Regions from separate parts of the Homo sapiens genome. Here regions 1, 2, 3, 4, 5 and 7 are each linked to region 6. The links are contacts of gene promoters, found by promoter capture Hi-C in blood cells and fetal thymus (Javierre and others, 2016). All regions are on one chromosome and are shown on one strand. The core of a region is centred on a gene start or on the middle of the fragment in contact, and the rest is flanking DNA. Distances in the headings are between cores, read along the strand shown. Region 1 overlaps PLOD2 (procollagen-lysine,2-oxoglutarate 5-dioxygenase 2). Region 2 overlaps PLSCR4 (phospholipid scramblase 4). Region 3 overlaps LOC105374145 (a long non-coding RNA gene). Region 4 overlaps PLOD2 (procollagen-lysine,2-oxoglutarate 5-dioxygenase 2). Region 5 has its middle 10 kb from the start of PLOD2. Region 6 holds the start of PLSCR1 (phospholipid scramblase 1). Region 7 overlaps PLOD2 (procollagen-lysine,2-oxoglutarate 5-dioxygenase 2).

The links. Contacts are between HindIII fragments. The CHiCAGO score rates a contact against its expected background, and 5 or more counts as called.
Region 1: a fragment that was not itself captured here is called in contact with the fragment with the promoter of PLSCR1 in region 6 in 1 of 17 cell types (M0 macrophages); the score reaches 5.7 in M0 macrophages.
Region 2: a fragment that was not itself captured here is called in contact with the fragment with the promoter of PLSCR1 in region 6 in 13 of 17 cell types (naive CD8 T cells, monocytes, naive B cells and 10 more); the score reaches 12.3 in naive CD8 T cells.
Region 3: a fragment that was not itself captured here is called in contact with the fragment with the promoter of PLSCR1 in region 6 in 13 of 17 cell types (monocytes, total B cells, naive B cells and 10 more); the score reaches 9.4 in monocytes.
Region 4: a contact is called between a fragment that was not itself captured here and the fragment with the promoter of PLSCR1 in region 6, in 1 of 17 cell types (M2 macrophages). The highest score is 5.0, in M2 macrophages.
Region 5: a contact is called between a fragment that was not itself captured here and the fragment with the promoter of PLSCR1 in region 6, in 2 of 17 cell types (monocytes and M0 macrophages). The highest score is 6.2, in monocytes.
Region 7: a fragment that was not itself captured here is called in contact with the fragment with the promoter of PLSCR1 in region 6 in 3 of 17 cell types (M1 macrophages, megakaryocytes and M0 macrophages); the score reaches 6.1 in M1 macrophages.

The regions. Positions count from the first base shown.
Region 1 is chr3:146,148,157-146,150,856 of GRCh38, reverse strand. The region is part of intron 1 of PLOD2 (procollagen-lysine,2-oxoglutarate 5-dioxygenase 2); the gene reads left to right. Among named protein-coding and RNA genes, the nearest start is that of PLOD2, 12 kb to the left of the region's middle. The HindIII fragment of the contact is 4,995 bases long and covers 1-2,700 here.
Region 2 is chr3:146,221,755-146,224,454 of GRCh38, reverse strand. PLSCR4 (phospholipid scramblase 4) reads left to right here. Exons shown (of 9, transcript NM_020353.3): 2 at 2,363-2,390. The coding sequence starts at 2,384. Among named protein-coding and RNA genes, the nearest start is that of PLSCR4, 28 kb to the left of the region's middle. The HindIII fragment of the contact is 1,358 bases long and covers 680-2,037 here.
Region 3 is chr3:146,187,079-146,189,778 of GRCh38, reverse strand. The region is part of intron 1 of LOC105374145 (a long non-coding RNA gene); the gene reads left to right. Among named protein-coding and RNA genes, the nearest start is that of PLOD2, 27 kb to the right of the region's middle. The HindIII fragment of the contact is 226 bases long and covers 1,252-1,477 here.
Region 4 is chr3:146,130,690-146,133,389 of GRCh38, reverse strand. The region is part of intron 1 of PLOD2 (procollagen-lysine,2-oxoglutarate 5-dioxygenase 2); the gene reads left to right. Among named protein-coding and RNA genes, the nearest start is that of PLOD2, 29 kb to the left of the region's middle. The HindIII fragment of the contact is 1,564 bases long and covers 617-2,180 here.
Region 5 is chr3:146,169,955-146,172,654 of GRCh38, reverse strand. No RefSeq gene overlaps it. Among named protein-coding and RNA genes, the nearest start is that of PLOD2, 10 kb to the right of the region's middle. The HindIII fragment of the contact is 504 bases long and covers 1,090-1,593 here.
Region 6 is chr3:146,543,336-146,546,035 of GRCh38, reverse strand. PLSCR1 (phospholipid scramblase 1) reads left to right here and starts at 1,429. Exons shown (of 9, transcript NM_021105.3): 1 at 1,429-1,569. RefSeq lists an enhancer at 1,100-1,579. The HindIII fragment of the contact is 8,607 bases long and covers 1-2,700 here.
Region 7 is chr3:146,071,103-146,073,802 of GRCh38, reverse strand. It overlaps PLOD2 (procollagen-lysine,2-oxoglutarate 5-dioxygenase 2), which reads left to right. Exons shown (of 20, transcript NM_182943.3): 16 at 451-516; 17 at 1,138-1,242; 18 at 2,380-2,526; 19 at 2,636-2,700. Among named protein-coding and RNA genes, the nearest start is that of LNCSRLR, 3.3 kb to the right of the region's middle. The HindIII fragment of the contact is 1,045 bases long and covers 822-1,866 here.

The sequences.
Region 1 (2,700 bases), core at 106-2,605, 400 kb after region 6:
ATCCTCTTCAGTACATTTAAATATTGTATGCTGTTAAAAAAATAAACTTATATTCATCTGTTTCAGTCCTGACCTTTAAGTCAAATAAATTAATAACAATTATGCTGGTAACTTTTTTTTTTAACTTTTATTTAGGGTTCAGGGGTACATGTGACGGTTTGTTACACAGGTGAACTCATGTAATGGGAGTTTGTTGTACAGACTATTTCATCACCCAGGTATTAAGCCCAGTACTCAGTAGTTATCTTCTTTGCTCCTCTGTCTCCTCTCACTGTCACCCTTAAGTTGAGCCCAGTATCTGTTGTTCCTTTCTTTGTGTTTATGAGTTCTCATCATTTAGCTTCCACATATAAGTGAGAATATTCGGTATTTGGATTTCTGTTCCTGTGTTAGTTTGCTAAGGATAATAGCCTCCAGCTCCATCCATGTTCTCGCAAAAAACATGATCTCATTTTTTTTTTAATGGCTACGTAGAAGTTAAAACGAAGTTTTATGGTATGTGCTACTTAAAAATTGGGGACCCTTTTCTAACTTGTTACATAAATAGTCATCAGAATACCTAGATTCAACTTTTGGATTCATTAATTATCTTTAAAATATGATTGCATTTAGTGAACTGAAAACATGGCAAATAAAAACGAAATCAGTTTGTGGGAGCAAAGTATTTATGTGCATACGTATATGTGTATATGTGTATGTACACATTTGTGTTTACTAGCCATGGAGGTTATTGTTGAGCCTTAAGAAAGGAATAGAAAGTATGAATACATTTTAATCTGGACTTCTTTGATATCTTGCTAGGTCATTGTCACAGCAGCATTTGTTCTACATGTGTTTGCATCTTTAGAATGGAGCATATCTAGTGAGTGGTACACTCTGAGACTTAATCCTTGGAGAAGATGGTGGTGTGCACTGCTTTTTTTTCTGGCTATTTTTCCTACTGTTTCCAGGTGGATTTTATGTAAATTGAAGGAAGCAGTTCAAGCAGAACAACTGGAAGGGAAAGAGTGTGACTTAATTTTAAAAACATATATAGTTACTTATACAGTTGTTTTTTACGTGTAAGATTAGCAAATATTAACAGAAGTATTTAGCCTGGGTGTTGGTTTTGGAAATTAACTGTTATTTATTGAATAAGCAAATAAATACCAGTAGCTGAGTCTTTTGTACAGTATATTAGGTTGAAGAAAAATTTGGTTTATTAAAATGATAAACTTTTATCTTATTAATATCACTTGATATTTTATGTTCCTCAAGCATAAACATATTTTTTTAAAAAATGAAGTATTACATTTTAAACAGCAAGTAAATATCCTAAAAAACCGGGCTCCTTCTCACTGAATGGCTGTGTTACACCAGTACTGTCAGCTCCATGGGTTATGGCAGAGTGGATAAGTGAGATTTTTTTTTCATGTTGAGATAAAAGATAAACTAAGAAGTCTACTTTTGAACCATAGACACAAACTTAAAAAATAACTATAATTGATAATTATATCTGATTTTCTATAACCAGATTTAAATTCTTTATTGATGCAAGACATGAATTTTTCTTAATAATTCTCAGAATATCCCACACTTAAATTAGTTTAAAAGCATATTTGGTTTGTAGAAACTTCTTTCGAAAAAGAGTCCTATTCAGTTTGAAGAGGTGATGGGAGTGAGAGGGTCAGTGAAATAGAGGAAGGGAAGTTGCTTTTAAGTGTGGTACAAAATTACAAAATATGTGACTTGAATGAGTTCACAATTAATTCAGAAAAATCTGAACTAGAAGCCACTGCTGAGTGCTGGCAAGGGAAATTATGCTTATGTAAAATGTGACACTGAATTCTTCCCTGAACAGAAATTTGGTTTGGGTAGTTTCATCCTTGGGATTTATTTCTGTGGATTATGCTTATTGTGGTTGTAGCATTTCATATTAACCGTAACAAATGGAATATCCCAGCCATTCTTTGCATGCTATGACTTTCAGCCTATGGTCCAGTGTGCATGGACCCTCTTGCAACATATACACTGAGACAGTGTATAGTGCTGAATTTGTTTTTTATTTGGTTTCAGGAAGTCAGCTGGTTACTTCAGTAATCAGCAGAGATTCAGAAATATAGATGTTGTAATATTATGCAACCATGGATGTGTTTTATATCACTTGGTATTTCTGATAAATTGAGGTACAAGTCTGTTGTGCTTTGAATTATTGGAGAGTTGTGTTATTTCCTCTTTTATTATGATTAAGTGTATTACAAAGAATTTGAGGATGATGTTTTTAAAATACTAGGGTAAATGCAGAAACAGTACAGAGGAGTGTTTGCTTTCTTGATATAGCCAGAGGGCGCTCACTATACAAGGAGACTAGAGACCTCTAACTTTGAACTTCAAAACTTTGAAGTCATTTTTTTCTCATTCCTCTGATTTATTCTTCGTATTTAGGTATAGTGCTTTGCTCATTATTTTGTCTCTGTCTTTTTTTGTTTGTTTCATCTGTAGTGAAAAGTGTGTGTGTGTGTGTGTGTGTGTGTGTGTGCGTGCCTGCCTGCCTGCCTGCCTGTATAAATAATTAGATATCTATTAGATATTTGAAACGGGTAAAGATTATTTTTAACATGATCTTAATATTGTTATTGCATTCAACAGTGATTCCTTAATGTTATTTAATACCTATCCAAATTCACCTTTGCCTCTTTTTCTCAAGTATGTCTTTTTATA
Region 2 (2,700 bases), core at 109-2,608, 320 kb after region 6:
GTAACACTCACCGCGAGGGTCCGCGGCTTCGTTCTTGAAGTCAGTGAGACCAAGAACCCACCAATTCTGGACACAATACTACATGTATTCTCCAGTGATTTGCTTTTTCTGTTGTGCTATAATTTTGAGATACATCTCTGTCCACGTGCACAGCTATAATTTGTTTTCACTACAGGATATTATTGTATCATGTGAATGTACCAGAATTTATTTATTCAGTCTACCATTGATGGACATTAGGCAAGTTTTCATTCTTTTAAATATGAATAGTGTTATCAAGAACATTCTTGTCTATATCCTGTGTGCATGTGCAAGAGTCACTTCCAGGTACATAACTAGGAGTGTCTAAATTTCTAGAAAGCTGTAGTCATTTTCCTTAACAACAGGGATTACCATCATTAAGGAATATGACTAACCCCTTGAACTCCTTTTACTGGCCCAGAATTGGGTCTGACTTTTTGGTATGCCCCAGAATAAATAAATAAATAAATAAATATTTATTATTTATAATTATTATATATTTGTATTATTTTATATTTAAATATTAATATATTTAAAATATAAATGTAAAAATATATAATATATATTAAATATATATTTAAAACATTTTTACATAATATATATTATATAAAAGTAAATATATATGTTTTAAAATATATTTATATGTATTTTTTAAGCTTGGAGACACATAGGGCACCGTACAACAAACTCCAGCTCCAGAGGTGAGTGGAGATGGTCCAAGACTGGTTAAACTTTCACCCGTCTTGGCAAGACAATCATTTCAGCTGGGAATCTGCATACTGGCTCGTACCATGGCAGTTTTCATTGAGTCAGCTCAGTGTCCATATTGATGACTCACTAATACGTTGTTTGAATGCTTTTTTGACCTACTCTAACTTGATACTTTTTTACTCCACTTGGACAACGCAAATGACTGTATTCTTATGAACATGATCACATATTGAAAAGTACATAGGCTTAGGATTTAGAAGCACTTGCCTTTAGCAGGGTTGGCCATTTACACATTAGAGAGTTGTTATAATCAGAGATATGTGAAAAGAATTGGGCCCTTTGCCTAACACTTGATAAGCATTCAGTAAATTATAGCCTTTGTTGATACTCTTTTTGTTATTTGTCATTACTCAGAACTCAGAAATTCAGATATATTGAAATTCCCTTCTCAAATAATAGCCTTTTTTTTGCCTGACTGAATTCAGAAAAATTTACCTTCACCCTCATTCCTTGTTTCAAATCTCGTCTCAACTTCTAGTCTTCTTCTTTGAGTTATTCTCATAATGTTCCCATACATATTTTTAATTTAAATGTTTAACTTCTTTTAGTCTCTTCTTAAACATGCCCCAGTCTAAACTTTCAATTCTTACCCTCCTCCATCCCCACTATTCCCCCACTATCCTCCTCTCTAGTTTTGTTAATAGGATCACCGTCAACTCAGTTACCTTGGGCTATGACTCAGAACCCTCTTCCACTCCTCTCTTTACCTTAGTCCATCAGCGACTCCTGGAGGCCCTGCTTCCAAACCGTATCATGCCTCTGAACACTCCTAACCTGCAGTGTCACCTCCCCCATCTAAGCTGGTGTCAGCTCTCACCTGGATTGCTGCTGCCATCCCTCACTGCTCCCTGCTTCTACTCTTGCTCTCATTGTATGATGTCGGTCAGATCTGATCACTCCACCGACTGAATCCTCCAGACTTCCCAGTTGCAAATACCAAAAATGCCAAACCCCTTGCCATGGCCTTCAGATGAGATCAGACCTTTATCTGCATGTCTTACCTCAGTTCGCTTCACTCACTGTGGCCCAGTCACTCCTAAACCACTTTCTCTTTTCCTCCCTTCAGTATCCCATGCTCACTGCCATCTCTGACCCTTTGCACTAATTTCCTATCTTCCTGGAACTCTCTTCCCACAATTGTAGTGTGATGTTTATTTTTCATAGTTGAAACAGCTCAAAGGTCACTTCCTGAGACAGGCTTTCCCTGACTCTCCTAGAACTTACCATCCGTGTTTCTCTTAAGCTTGTTACATTGTTTTCCTCATAACTGTACTATCTAACGTTAAACTTTAACATTTCTTGACTTTTTTTAAATCTCATTCTACTACAATATAAACTGCAGCACAGTAGGTGGCAGAGTGTCTGTCTGCTTCATTGCTGTACTCTCAACATCTGTATTAGTGCCTCGTACATAATAGGTGCTCAATAAGTATTTTTTTAATTAATGAAGGGACAAATGTAAGGTAACTGGAGGTTAAAAAAATTACAGAAATCCTTACCTGTGTTACTGAGTAGCAATACTATTTATTATGTATGTATTTTAAAGGCATTAACATTTTTTATTTTTCAGGATTAATTGGAATTCTTCAAAATGTCAGGTAAGTTTTTGTGAATAAATTTGAATATGCTTTATTTTCAAATGTGAATTTTGTGATTATTTTCCCTAAAGGGGGACTTTATTTCGATTTTTTTTTGTTTAACATTTGGCAAATATAAATACGTGTGTGTGTTTGCATATATATATGTATGTATATATTTGTTATTTATGTATATAGACATTCCTATCATTGTCAGAAAAAGATTAAAAAGGGACTTACAGTGGGACACATATCTACTGAATAATCTTTGAAGTTTGTGGGGAAAATTAGGTAATAAAAAAAGCAAGATTTGCAAAGCAGTTCTGCAAAG
Region 3 (2,700 bases), core at 115-2,614, 360 kb after region 6:
TAGAGCTAGAGGAGCTACTTCCACCTAGCGGTGGAACTTAGTTAATGCAAGAATTTCTAGAGCTGCGCAGTCTCAAGGTTCCAACCAGAAATCTGATGAGGCCAATCGTTGTAATCCTGTGTCCCAGCTGCCCAGAGCAGGTTCGTGGTGAGTGTTCACTAGTGTGTGTAATGAGGGTGGGGAAGGTGCTAGAGCTGGGGAGATGGTAATGCCTTTGCACATAGTATCTAAACAAAAAACTTAAATTGCAAATTCTGAAAACATGTACTGCCATTAGCTAGCTTAATAGTTGCCTATTACATTTCTTGCCGTTCTTACTTGTACTGCTCCTCAGCAAAGAAGCCAGTTGTGAAATCATGTAATTTGGGGATATATAATTGCTATCTTTACCCAAAGATTTAATTCTAGGCCAGATGTTGGACATTCATCTGGGGCACATGGAGAAAAAGCAACCTAATCATGAGATAGGTGGGATGATGCAACTACCTATAATAACAATAGTGAAAATGATGAAGACTATAAAACCAGCCAGCTCTATTTAATGCTTCCTACAAACCAGACGCTGTTCTAGTTCTAAAGACTTTCCATATATTAACCCATTTAATTCTCATAACCCTATGAGTTAGATTACTATAATGATTCCCATTTTACAAAATAGAAAATGAAGATTTAGGTATCTTGCACAAGGCCACTCAGCTAGCTGTATATCCACAAAGCCGTTATGTGACTGCCCAAAGCACTGAGAAGCAAAAAGAATAAAGCTGGAGGCATTACATAACCTGACTTCAAATTATATTACAAAGCTGTAGTAACCAAAACATCATAGTACCGGTATAAACATCCAGAGGCTACACTCCAAATTTTTATGCCCTGTTTTTCTTTCATCTCTGTGTAATATTTGGTTTCTTTGTCTGTTAACCCAGAAATACAGGGAAACAGAAATAGAGGAGAAAGGTGGCATGCTACTTCATGTGTTTTAAAATTTAGGACTATGACCGGGAAACGCAAGAGACTCAGAAGTCTTGTCTGAGGGTAGCTGTCTCCAGAGAGGCTTACCTTTGCTCCTATTGGTGCCTCAGTGGTGTTGCCAGCTGATGACCATTTTTTTATATTATTTCTTCAGTTTGGTGTTTCCCAAGTCATGTATGTATTTCAAATATGAACCCCTAAATGATGTGGACATATCCTGGTTTATGAATTCTCAGGGAACAAATTTTCCCTACCTGTAGCAGAGGTCAAAACAATCAAGCTTTCTCTTAATTTCTATTTGCCAATTTTTCTATCTCACTTTTTACACTGGAGTGTGTCCCTTTGAGACTTTCCACTTTACTGGGGGTCTCTCTTCTAATATCAACCCTTGCCTAAGCCCAAGACCTCACTTCCAGCCTCATGGTGGTGGGTAAAATCAAAGCCCCTTCCTAATAAACGTTGGTGACTCCTTCCATTTGAGAAGCCAAAGAAAATGCCAGACTAAGCTTAATAGTCAGACGTTTCCAATTTTTCTTTATTTTTAACTTCTGCTAAAATCTTGTACTCTCCCAAAATCTACACTTTGCATCTAAAAGCCCTTTGGTTATATTTCAGCCACACTTTATATATTCTATGGAAAGAGGGGTTTTAAGATTATCTAATTTGCAACATTGCTAGCAATGTGAGTGACCTATTTTTTTAAACTGCACATGATTTTTATGTGAAATATTCAGAGGAAAATTCTTTAACATAAATATAATCATATAATATTGAAACTTGCAACTTATTACTATTTGTTATACCTAACTTACAACTAAATATTTTCTCTTTGAGATGAGTTATCTATCATCATATTATTGAGTTCCAGATTCTCTTAAAATGTTTAATATTTCTAGTACTACTGTTAAGTAAAAGACATTTATTTAAAATTGTGTCAGCTCTTCTATGACCCAGGCTTAGGCAAATTTATTTTAGGAAATTATAGGAGCAATCTTTTCCTTAAACAGTTTTGAAAACATGTTGCTCAAATTGTCTTAGTTAACAATCACTAAACATAGTTTACATGAGTTTTAACTTTTTTCATTATAACAGATAAAAGATAACATAGTTAGAAATCAAACCATTTTAAAACCTCTTGATTTTACAGAAATAAACAAGTAGAGAGTGCCAGGGAGAAGCAAGTAGAGTGACAAAATATTTATCTCGCTTTGCTGCCTTTCCCCGCTCCATGTCAGAAAGCTGAATAAAACAAGCTACAATAGGGGGCAGCACCAGCTCATGGATTTTTTTGTTAAACTATGCTCATTTTTTAATCCAAGAATTTATCAGTACCAATCTATAAATTTTAATGAATAGTATCAGTGGATTTTAAAATCAGAAGAAGTGTTAAGGACCATCTGCTCTACATTCTAATATACAAATGAAGGAAGTGGGAGAGGCCCAGATTATGTGTCTAAAATTACATTGAGAATTAACTAGTAATCAAACCAGAACTAAAAACACAGATCGCCATTTTTATTCCAGTTTCCGTGCCGCCACAGCAAAAATTTAGCAGAGATTTAAAACATTTTAAAGCAACATCTTTCATAACATTGAGATTTTAAGCATGAAAAAAATAAAACCCAGTTTCAAATTATTCTAATGTTCAAAATCTTTTTTAAGCACATACTCATGGTGTCTACCTCAATAAATCAGATTAATTTCAGAGGTTTTCTAACTATAAAGGAGAAA
Region 4 (2,700 bases), core at 149-2,648, 410 kb after region 6:
TATGTATGTATTAATGACTTTCTGAAGTATATGGATACTTTTGAGATTGTGAGAATGTAAATTTATTTAAATGTCACTGTATTTATTTCAAGGTTTTCTCATAATTTTCTTGATCAGTTGTTGCTATAACATGGTTATAGAGTAGCCCACAATATTTTATATTAAAAATTACACCTCATACTAGGAAAATGGAGCCTTTTATTTTTATTTTTTTGAGACGGAATCTTGCTCTGTCGCCCAGGCCGGAATGCAGTGGCGTGATCTCCGCTCACTGCAAGCTCCGCCTCCTGGGTTCACGCCATTCTCCTGCCTCAGCTTCCCAAGTAGCTGGGACTACAGGTGCCAGCCACCACACCCGGCTAATTTTTTTGTATTTTTAGTAGAGACCGGGTTTCACCATAGCCAGGATGGTCTCGATCTCCTGACCTCATGATCCGCCCACCTTGGCCTCCCAAAGTGCTGGGATTACAGGCATGAGCTACCGGATCCAGCCAGGCTTTTATTTTAAAATTCAAATCTTTGTCTAATATTTATTCAAGTTTTATTGACCATAAATATACAAATTTTGATTTTTTTTGCAGTATAATCTGTATGTTTTAAAAAATGTCTTGAAGCTTTCATAGCATTTTGAAAGTTACTAGCTACTAGAAATTCTTGATCATAATATTCCTTTGAGTTCTGTCTTGAAATTTGTCAAACATTCACTATTGGGTTACCTAACAGACCAAAGCACACATGTGGGTATATCACTGGAAAAAATGAGTATCCAAAGGGATGATCAGGAAACCTAAAAAAAAAAGTTCTTAATGTTGGCATGTATAAAATTTTTATTTGAAAAGAATGATAAAGATATATCATGGTTTGGTTTGAAGTATCTATAAAGGATGGGGATGGTCTCGGTGCACCTTGGTCTTTCACATATCTATTATCTCTGGAAGTCTTGATCTATCCTTCTACATTTGGTATCTAGTTAGTATTGGACCTTATGGTTCTAGAAGAGTTTATTTTTAACTTCATGACTCCTATCCAGGACCATTTGTCTTACAGCCTTTCTGTAAATAACTGGCGATACTTGCCCTCTCCATCCCACTGCACATACTGCTATGGTGACCAACTCATTCCAGTTTGCCTAGGACTTTTCCAGTTTTAAAACTGAAAGCCCTGTATTTCTGGAATCTCCTCAGCCCTGGGCATACTGGGATGGTGAGTCATTCTGCATACTACCCTCCACTTTTCAGCACTTCTCTTAATTTGTGGTTTGTCTGTTCATTGTCCAGAGTGGGCTGTGGAAGCCCAGGCATCCATGTGAAAGCTAGTGTGTGTGAAGATGCCCTCTATGTAGCATTAGAGGTTGGAAGTGACTTTTTTCTTTAAGCATACCATTGCCCCTCTTTTTCTACAAAAATGGTAGGAAATCATTGGATGTCTCTTGACACATCCTTTTTAGGTTTTTTTTTTCTTGTTGAAATTGTGACGTGAATTACTCTTGAGGAATTTTTGTCTTGAATTTTTTTCAACAGTTCTGCAAAATAAAATTAATTCTCTTCAACAATTCCACAAAATAAAATTAGACTTCGTGCCTTCAGTTCGTCATAGTTTTTGGTGACTCAGTACTTAACAAAGCAACAAAATTGTGTGCAATGAAACCTAGGAAAACCAAGTTTTTTAGTAACTGTGAATCCCGAGTTGTCTTAGATTGGTTACCACTTAACTGCAGGATCCTGGATAAGTCTTGTTTTCTCTTTAGATTATGGTTTCCTCCTTCATGAAAGAAGTGGGCTTTGCTAGACTGACCCTGAGGTCATAATTCACATTAAAGGAAATGACTTTCAGTCAGTGGAAGAGCAGGGTATGATTACTTTATGTACCAAATACTTATTTTCTGGAATCCATTTGGAGTCATTTTTATATCTCTCTAGCTTCGCCTCTGAGTACAGAACACAGCATAATGCACTATCCCCATAGTACCTCTTTCAGATAAGACTTTCTGACTGTAGCTAGGATAATATGTCGGACATCCCCAAGACCACCTGCGGGTTCAGTGATTCACCAGGAGGACCTACAGGATTCAGCATATGGTTGTACTCATGTCTATGACTTATTATTGTGAAAGGATACAAAGCAAAATCAGCAATGAGAAAAAACACATGGGTGAGGTCCAGGGAAACCAGGAATAAGCTTCTAACAGTTCTTTTCCAGTGAAGTCACACAAGATCTGCTTAATTCTCCAAGCAACTAACTGGTTGTGACAACATGTGTGAAATGTTTACCTACCATGGAAGCTCATTAGAGATTCAGTGCCCATAACTTTTCTGGAGAATGGTCACATAGGCAGCCTCTGTACCAAAATTTCAAGCACCCAGAAGGAAGGCAGGTGTTCAGCATAAACCGCATTGTTTGTATAATTTAGCCACAGTGAGCCATCTTATCTAGGAATGATGGGAACCCTTCCCATTGGAAGACCATCTGGAAACCATATGGAATCCAACTTTTCAGATGCCTGCCAAGGACCAACCTTACAAGCAGATCTTTCTAAGGATAGAAGTCTTAAGTTGCTATCTCTTTTCTGAACATAATAAAACTCAATGATTGCTTCAGCCCTTAACCTGTTGTCACCAGGGGAGGCCACATGACATTGAGGAATAACTCTGAAGTTCTACTTCTGGCCCTACTAGTAATTTGTTAGGTGACTTTGGCTAA
Region 5 (2,700 bases), core at 92-2,591, 370 kb after region 6:
ATGTTATGGAATGTTGACACCATCAAGCTCACTCTTTAGTGATTAAGTTCATTTTGATGATACAGTTTTTAAAGAATATATGTTTAATATGTTGATCATTCAGACTTTATATACAAGTTTCAAGAAGCTGAAATTTGTATGCCTGCAGATGAAAATTTCAGTAAGAAACAAAGCAGTTCTTGTTAGAAAAAGACTCATAATTTGGAGCTAGTATGTATGTTGGAATGTGAAGTTATGTGATAGGGCCACAAGCCAAATATAAAGTCTTTATAGGAAGTCTCTGTGCCTCAGATCCTCTGTCTCTCCTGGCATAGACAGAAAACTATTCCTCCTTTGACTTCAACTCTTCAGTGAAATGGGGAATTATTGTCTGCAGTATGTAGGATAGAAGGAATTGACTAAGGAACTCACCTAAGATGAATATAACATAAAGTAACACACTAAAATTATGGCAGCTAAATGAATCTCTACATTCTGAGTAGTAAGACCCACATGATTATTTTAGCCCACCCTATTCAAGAACTAGAATATAACAGCCAAACTTAAAGGCCATACTTCCCCTACATTCAGGAGATCGAAGTTTTCTTCTATAGAGAAGTTGCATCAAGGCTGGGCGCAGTGGCTCATGCCTGTAATCCCAGCACTTTGGGAGGCCAAGGTAGGCAGATCACCTGAGGTCAGGAGTTCAAGACCAGCCTGGCCAACATGGTGTAACCCCCTTCTACTAAAAATACAAAAATTAGCTGGGTGTGGTGGTGCATGCTTGTAGTCCCAGCTACTAAGGAGGCTGAGACAGGAGGATTGCTTGAACCCAGGAAGCAGAGGCTGCAGTGAGCTGAGATCACGCCACTGCACTCCAGCCTGAGTGACAGAGAGAGACTCTGACTCAAAAAAAAAAAAAAAGGTAGCGTCAAAAGATACTGACATTGGGAGCCTTCCCCAAACAAAATGTTTAGATGTTCTCTTCTCTCATCACCTTACAAAATGTACGCCAGTTGACAAACCCCACCTTTGCACATAGAGCTGTCATCTTTTAAACACCTTTTCTGACTAGAAAGTCAAGGATAAGTGGACCATATGAGGCAAGCTTTCACATAAATATAGTGGCCAAAACAAAGGAACTGAAGAAAACAGAGCGCAGGCATGAAATTGAAGAAAACGATTAAAAAAACCACTCTATTATACTTGAAGAATTAAAAGACAGTGTATTCATAAAACAATGGACTGACATTTAAAGATGAACATTCAGAAAATAAGAAACGGCTTCTAAAATTCAAATTATGAAATAAAAATTTGAAAGAGGCAGATACATTTAAATAATATTCTAAATAGAATAAAAAGGCAAATAAATGAAAAATCAGAGAAGGTAAGGAAATTAGAGGATCAATATAGGAGAGAGAATAGAGAAAATGGAGTGGAAAATTTTTCAAAAAATGGTTCACTGAATACACAAAACAATGAATGACAGAAGATTTACCCCAAAATGCATCATTATGTCACTGTGAATTTTAGAATACTGTGAATACAAAAGATTATAGAGGGAGGGAGGGAGACAGAGAGAGAGAGAAGAGATACAGATGGTAAACACAAGCTTGATCAGAAGTCATTGTAACAATAAAACAATCTGAAATACTGAAGGAAAGTGAAAAACAATCTAAAGTTCTATATTCGCTGAAACTAGCATTTAACTTATAAGAGTGGAATGAGTAGATTTTTAGGCATGAAAAGTTTCAAAACATTTACATTTCATGAACTTTTTCTCAGAAAGTTACTGGAGGATGTGTTCCACCAAAACAATGGAATGAATCACAGGAATGAGGATCTAATAAAGGAGAGAAGTTAAGGGATTCCAATGATTACAATGATGAGAAATCCCATGGGAATTTCAGCTCCATCAATCCAGGTAGGAGAAGGATGAAGGTTTCCTCTAAGAGAGTCATCTCCAAGACAAAAGACAAAGAAATTGCTGGATGTGACTGACCCCATTGGTTGAAGTTTTACAGCTTATCCCAAAGAATTAAAATGTAGTGGTGGCACATAGAAAACTAAGCAACTGAATAAAGAATTTAATGATAGTTTAGTACACAGTAAATAAATTTAAAAGGCAATTATTAATTCCAGGAAAAGCAGAAAACATACAAGAAAGGAAACTGAATTATGGTAGATTACTTAGCTTAACAATAAATATTATTTATACAACCACAATCATGCAAACACTATTAATCTAACTAAAATTGTGACACACATGCAGAGGATTGGCGATGGTATGTTTGTGAGTGTGAATGTGTGTATGTATGTGTGTGTGTGTTGGGGGGGGGAGAGAGACAGAGAGAGAGAGATAGAGAAACAGAAAGACAGAGAGAGAAAAGAGACTTCTGCCAATCTACCATCTTCCTTGGTAGGCAGTCAACTAATAGGTAATGGACTATGTTGGTTACCCAACCATTCATAATTCTTGCTCATGGGGCCTAAATTTTGTTTAAGTTTCCAAATCAAACTGTCTCCTGTGTGATTCAGAGAGAGCTGACATCATCTACAGCTCTAGGGATAGATATGAAGCTAAACATGAATGGCAATCATTTTCCTCTGGCACGATTGGTTTAAAAATGGCCACATGACCTAATTCTGGCCAGTGACACAAGGGGATGTCTTCTAGGCAGTTTCTGGGTAAAGACAGAAATATCAGCACTTCTTTTTCTT
Region 6 (2,700 bases), core at 180-2,679:
GCATTACTACCCAACCACAAAAGAACCCTGAACTGGGAATGAATGTATCCATGACCCATTTGTGAGTAAGTCAGGTGAATCGATTTTGTCCGTACTAGAAGAGGATCAATTGCTTGAGATCACAAATGATGGTGGCCTTAAAAGTATGTTTGAGACAGCTTCAAATCCCATGTTCTGGATTAAACTCAAGGTGGGATATCCTGAGATTGCCACAAAAGCACTGAAGAGTCTGCTTCCATTTCCAACATGCTATCTTTGTGAAGCAGGATTTTCTGCAGTGACAGCAACCAAAACAAGATTACGGAGTAGACTGGACATAAGCAACACACTTCTGGTGTCACTGTCTCCCACCGTTCCCAGATGGGACCTTCTAATTGCAGGAAAACAAGGTCAGGGCTCCCACTGATTCCACATTATGGTGAGTTGTATAATTATTTTATTATATATTACAATGTAATAATAATAGAAGTAAAGTGCGCAATACACGTAATGTGCTTGAATCATCCTGAAACCGTCTGCCACCCGGCCCTGGTCCATGGAAAAATCCTCTTCCGTGAAACTGGTCCCTGGTGCCAAAAAGGTTGGGGACCACTGGTTTATCCAGGGTCATCCAGGTTGGAGTGGGGTCAGGAGAAATGGGGAAATTTAGGTAAAAGTATACAAAGTTACAAACACGTAGGATGAACAAATGGGAAGACCTAATGTACAACATGAGGGCTATAGTTAATGATAGTGGTATTCAGGATTTATGCTAAATAAGTAGATTATAGCTGCTCTTGCCCCAAGGGGGGAAATGTGTAATTATAGGAGTTGATGGATATGTCATACAAATAACTTAAATACACAGAATAAAAACTATTTTAGTTTAAAAAGGAACAATATTTATAAAAAAATAAAGTGAGCTCGAAAACATTCAAATAACTGCTTAAAAATTAAAAAGTAATATCACATAATTTAATAGAAGGAAAGAAAGAGCAAGACAGCAAGAAAGAAAAGGCACCATAAAGAAAAACAATTTTGGCCCCTCCTCATTTGTAGTCTTAAGCTGCCTCTACTCCCTCGCCTTGAAAAGCCACGGGCTTCCGAGGGATGGAGGTCAAAGCCAGAGTAAAGAAAGTTCCCGGGGGAGGCCACTCCCCAGCTGATGACTTTCCAGTTCCAGTTAGTGTCGGAGTCCCAGTTCCTCTCCTTAACCACCGGACAAACGTCTCTGGAGTCTCTCCAATGAGCAAGAAAGCAAGTCGGGGGTAGGGGAGGGGCCTCACACCAGGGGGTGGGCGCAGTCCCTCCTCCAGCTCCTTCACCCTCCAGTAGTCTCGTGGGTCCCCGAGCGCCAGCGCGGGAACCGGGAAAAGGAAACCGTGTTGTGTACGTAAGATTCAGGAAACGAAACCAGGAGCCGCGGGTGTTGGCGCAAAGGTTACTCCCAGACCCTTTTCCGGCTGACTTCTGAGAAGGTTGCGCAGCAGCTGTGCCCGGCAGTCTAGAGGCGCAGAAGAGGAAGCCATCGCCTGGCCCCGGCTCTCTGGACCTTGTCTCGCTCGGGAGCGGAAACAGCGGCAGCCAGAGGTGCGCGGGCGGCTTTCTCTGCCGCCTCCTGGGGACTTGGGCGCGGGAACTGCGCGGAGCCTGCGCTGGGGCCAGGGCCGGGGTCAGGTGTGGAGGGCAACTTGTGGGGAACCGGCGCGAGGGCCCGCAGGTTGTGTTTGCTGCTCTGGGGGTGGAGGATGTGGGGTGAAGGTTGGGGCCAGAAATGCAAGAGGCCTCTGAAAGGGACCCTGGAAGTGGAGCAGGTACACGGCAAGGGGCCCCAGGCGGCCCAGCGGCACCCGGGCTCACCCCAGAACCATTCGAATGACAAGGGGTGCCCTGCCTGAAAACGCCTTGCGGGGCTCAGCTTCCCCTTAGCTACACTGCTTTACAGGTAGAGAGCGGCCCTGAATCCTGGGTAGAGTCTGGGCTCAGGAGCATGTGCCAGCGTAGTGGGGCTATTAGAAGGAATGGTTAATACAGCCTGCAAGCTGTCATTTATCAGTAAGTATTCAATGAAGTCCGCCGGAGCCCACATCTATGCTAGGCCCTCTACAATACCAGCTTAGGAAAGATAGTGGCGGTATCTAGCACGGTTCCTAAGACCATTAGCTCCAGTCAGGCTCCCCGACTTTAAATTCGGCCTCTACTGCTTCACGTCTGTGGACTGTCAGCCACTTTCTTCTTATATATGTTCTTTCCATTGCCTCATCTCTGAAATTGTGTAACTATTAAATGAGCTACAGAGTATTAATGTAAAATTCTTAGAGCAGTGCCTGGCGCTACAGAAAGTACTCAGTGAAAGTTAGCTCTTATTATTTTAAATATTTGACAAAGTTCCTGCTTCTCCAAGCTGATTCTCTGGTTCCCAGGTGGTTTCATTCATGCACTGTTATTCCTGGAAGTCTTGGCATGGCCACTTCCCAGTTCCAGGAACAGGCAGTCGTTGTTTTTTCTGGCTTATCACATTGAGATACATGGTTACTACAAGTGACACTTAAACGTGTCAGACAGTTTGGGGGCTCCCTTCTTGAACTTTTTCTAAGAGCAAACCTTTGTCTTAATGCCACCCTGTTTACAACAATAGTAGGGCTTTGAACAATGAGAAAATGCGGGGAAATGAAAAAGACATATAAAGGGAAAGAGTGGATTTATGCAATTGGATAGAAA
Region 7 (2,700 bases), core at 95-2,594, 470 kb after region 6:
GCACACCTTTATTTACCTACTCTGTGTATATATTAAAATACTGATGGTCCCCAACTTACGGTGGCTTTACTTAGGAATTTTCAGCTTTATGTTGGATTTATCGGGGTACTGTGTGTTTTTAACCTCCCACGGGTTTATTGGGACATAACCCCATCGTGAGTCAAGGAGCATCTGTAAAATGTGTAAATCTATTCACTGTAAGATTACTTAAGTTTTAAAATCCTGAGGTACAATATTTCATAAATAAAAATTTTGTATTTCATAGAATGACATAAGCATATTCAGAACCAGGCAAAGATTAGGCTATATACTGTGATTTCTGAAAATTACTATTTTGTCCACTATACATAATCATTTATAAGTTGAATAATTTCTAAAATGCATATGCTTTATACTTTTCAGTGAAGTATTTATAAAGATATTTGTTTTAATATGTACTTCTTTTTATAGGACTGGAAGGAAAAGTATATAAACCGTGATTATTCAAAGATTTTCACTGAAAATATAGTTGAACAGGTTTGTATTAATGATTACAAAGTATAGAAAATTTTGCTGTTATTTTCCAGAAGAAATATTATTAATACTACTTTCACAGAAGATGTGAAAGTGGAGAAACTACCTTTTAGGTAAAATTTATTTGATTCAATTACTGATTAAATAGCATTAAGGAACATACAGTTGTAAAATGTAGAACATAGAAATTAACATTTTAAAAGCATGCCTTTTTAAAAAGCATGCTCCTATGTGTCATAGCTTTCTGAAACCACTAAAAATAGAAACTGTTGACAGATCTCTGATGTAGAACTCTTGCAGTGAAAGCTTATCTTTGGAAGAAACTGGGCTGTCTTTCTGGAAGAGTCTTTTCTCAGAGACATCTTTGAAACATGAATTCTCTTTTAGCTTAGTGTTCAAAACTATTGTTAATACCTAATTTTTGAGAATGTAAGATGTCATCAATTCTGAGGTGCACCATTATTTATGTACCATGAGAAAAAAAATACTGTCAATAAACCATGACAGAAAACTATGTTTCCTAGTCATACAGGATTTTTTATTTTACACATATTAAAATAACTATTTTAGACTATTAAGACACAGAAGTTATTATGTCTTCTAACGATGATGCATATTTTATAGCCCTGTCCAGATGTCTTTTGGTTCCCCATATTTTCTGAAAAAGCCTGTGATGAATTGGTAGAAGAAATGGAACATTACGGCAAATGGTCTGGGGGAAAACATCATGTAAGTTGTAATTTCACACTAAGAACTAAAATGTATGTGGGGGTTAAGTAGATACTCAGAGAATTCGGAGGGGTTATATACTTTTTCTCATATGTCTCTGAGTTCTAGACTTAGATAAATTGGCTAGCCAAGGCTCTGATTTCAGTCTACTTCTCCCACCAACCAATTTTTTTAACACTTAAGTAATTTCATTAGTTTGGGCGGGTTTCTCATTTATGCATGTAATTACACTGGATGTTCCCTAAGGGTCGATGTCCTCAGGCCAGAGTTTGTTAGGTAACACATGTCTTTACAGAGTGATGTCACTCTTTTCCAAGGCCACTTTTTATTCCTTGCGTTTTCACAGTGAGCTGTGGTGAAAATTCTAAGGCAAATGTTATCTGGCTCTGAAAACTGTTTTTGTGTGTAAAGATAGGAAGGAGGGATCTGAGTGCCTTAGGTGTAATTCAGTTTTGCATTTGCATTCAGTGTCAAAGACTTGGCAGGAAATACTACTGCCAGTGGTTAGATGTGTTTCTTTCCCTCTGAGAACAGACATGCCATTTTAGCAGAATACTCTGGAATATTACTGCCTCTGCACGGTTATGTCCCCCAGGTAATGAGCTGATAAGGGAGAGGGAAGCTTAAAGTATAAGGAAGAACTTAAGTTAGTGGGTGATGAAATAATGAAAAGCAATCATTCAAAAACTTTTGAGTGTTACAAATAGAAGTGAGGAAGGGCGGGGAAAGCTTGTTTTTAGTGTTTGGTAATACAGACAGCAGATATGCTAAGTGTATGCTCATCAAGCAGCTGAGACTGCCTAAAGGGTCACTGTAAAAAAAGACTCATTTTTAAGAAAGGATGTGAGGGCTTAGGAAGTCAATTTTATTTACTTTATAGCTAAACTTCACATATACATTTAAGAAGTAGGAAAGGAGTCTACTGACCTTACATTACTTTGTTTCGTCATTGTATCATTGACAAAGCTGTTACCTAAGTTATTTTGATAATTTTACAGTTAAAGCAGATGATATACCACATTGGAACAACTGTTATTTTTATTGTCTATTATGATCTGTGGTTGAAAAAAAATACTATAATATAAATGGGAATTGCACGTGGAGTACAGCTTATTATGTCATTAATGTTGTTTCTAGGATAGCCGTATATCTGGTGGTTATGAAAATGTCCCAACTGATGATATCCACATGAAGCAAGTTGATCTGGAGAATGTATGGCTTCATTTTATCCGGGAGTTCATTGCACCAGTTACACTGAAGGTCTTTGCAGGCTATTATACGAAGGTAGTTATCCTCTCACCCCTCCAGCCTATTTCTTACCCATTTTTACACAGGTGTTCTTTTTAATGTTTTTATTAATAAGCAAATCCACTGGCTTACTTTGCTTTTTCAGGGATTTGCACTACTGAATTTTGTAGTAAAATACTCCCCTGAACGACAGCGTTCTCTTCGTCCTCA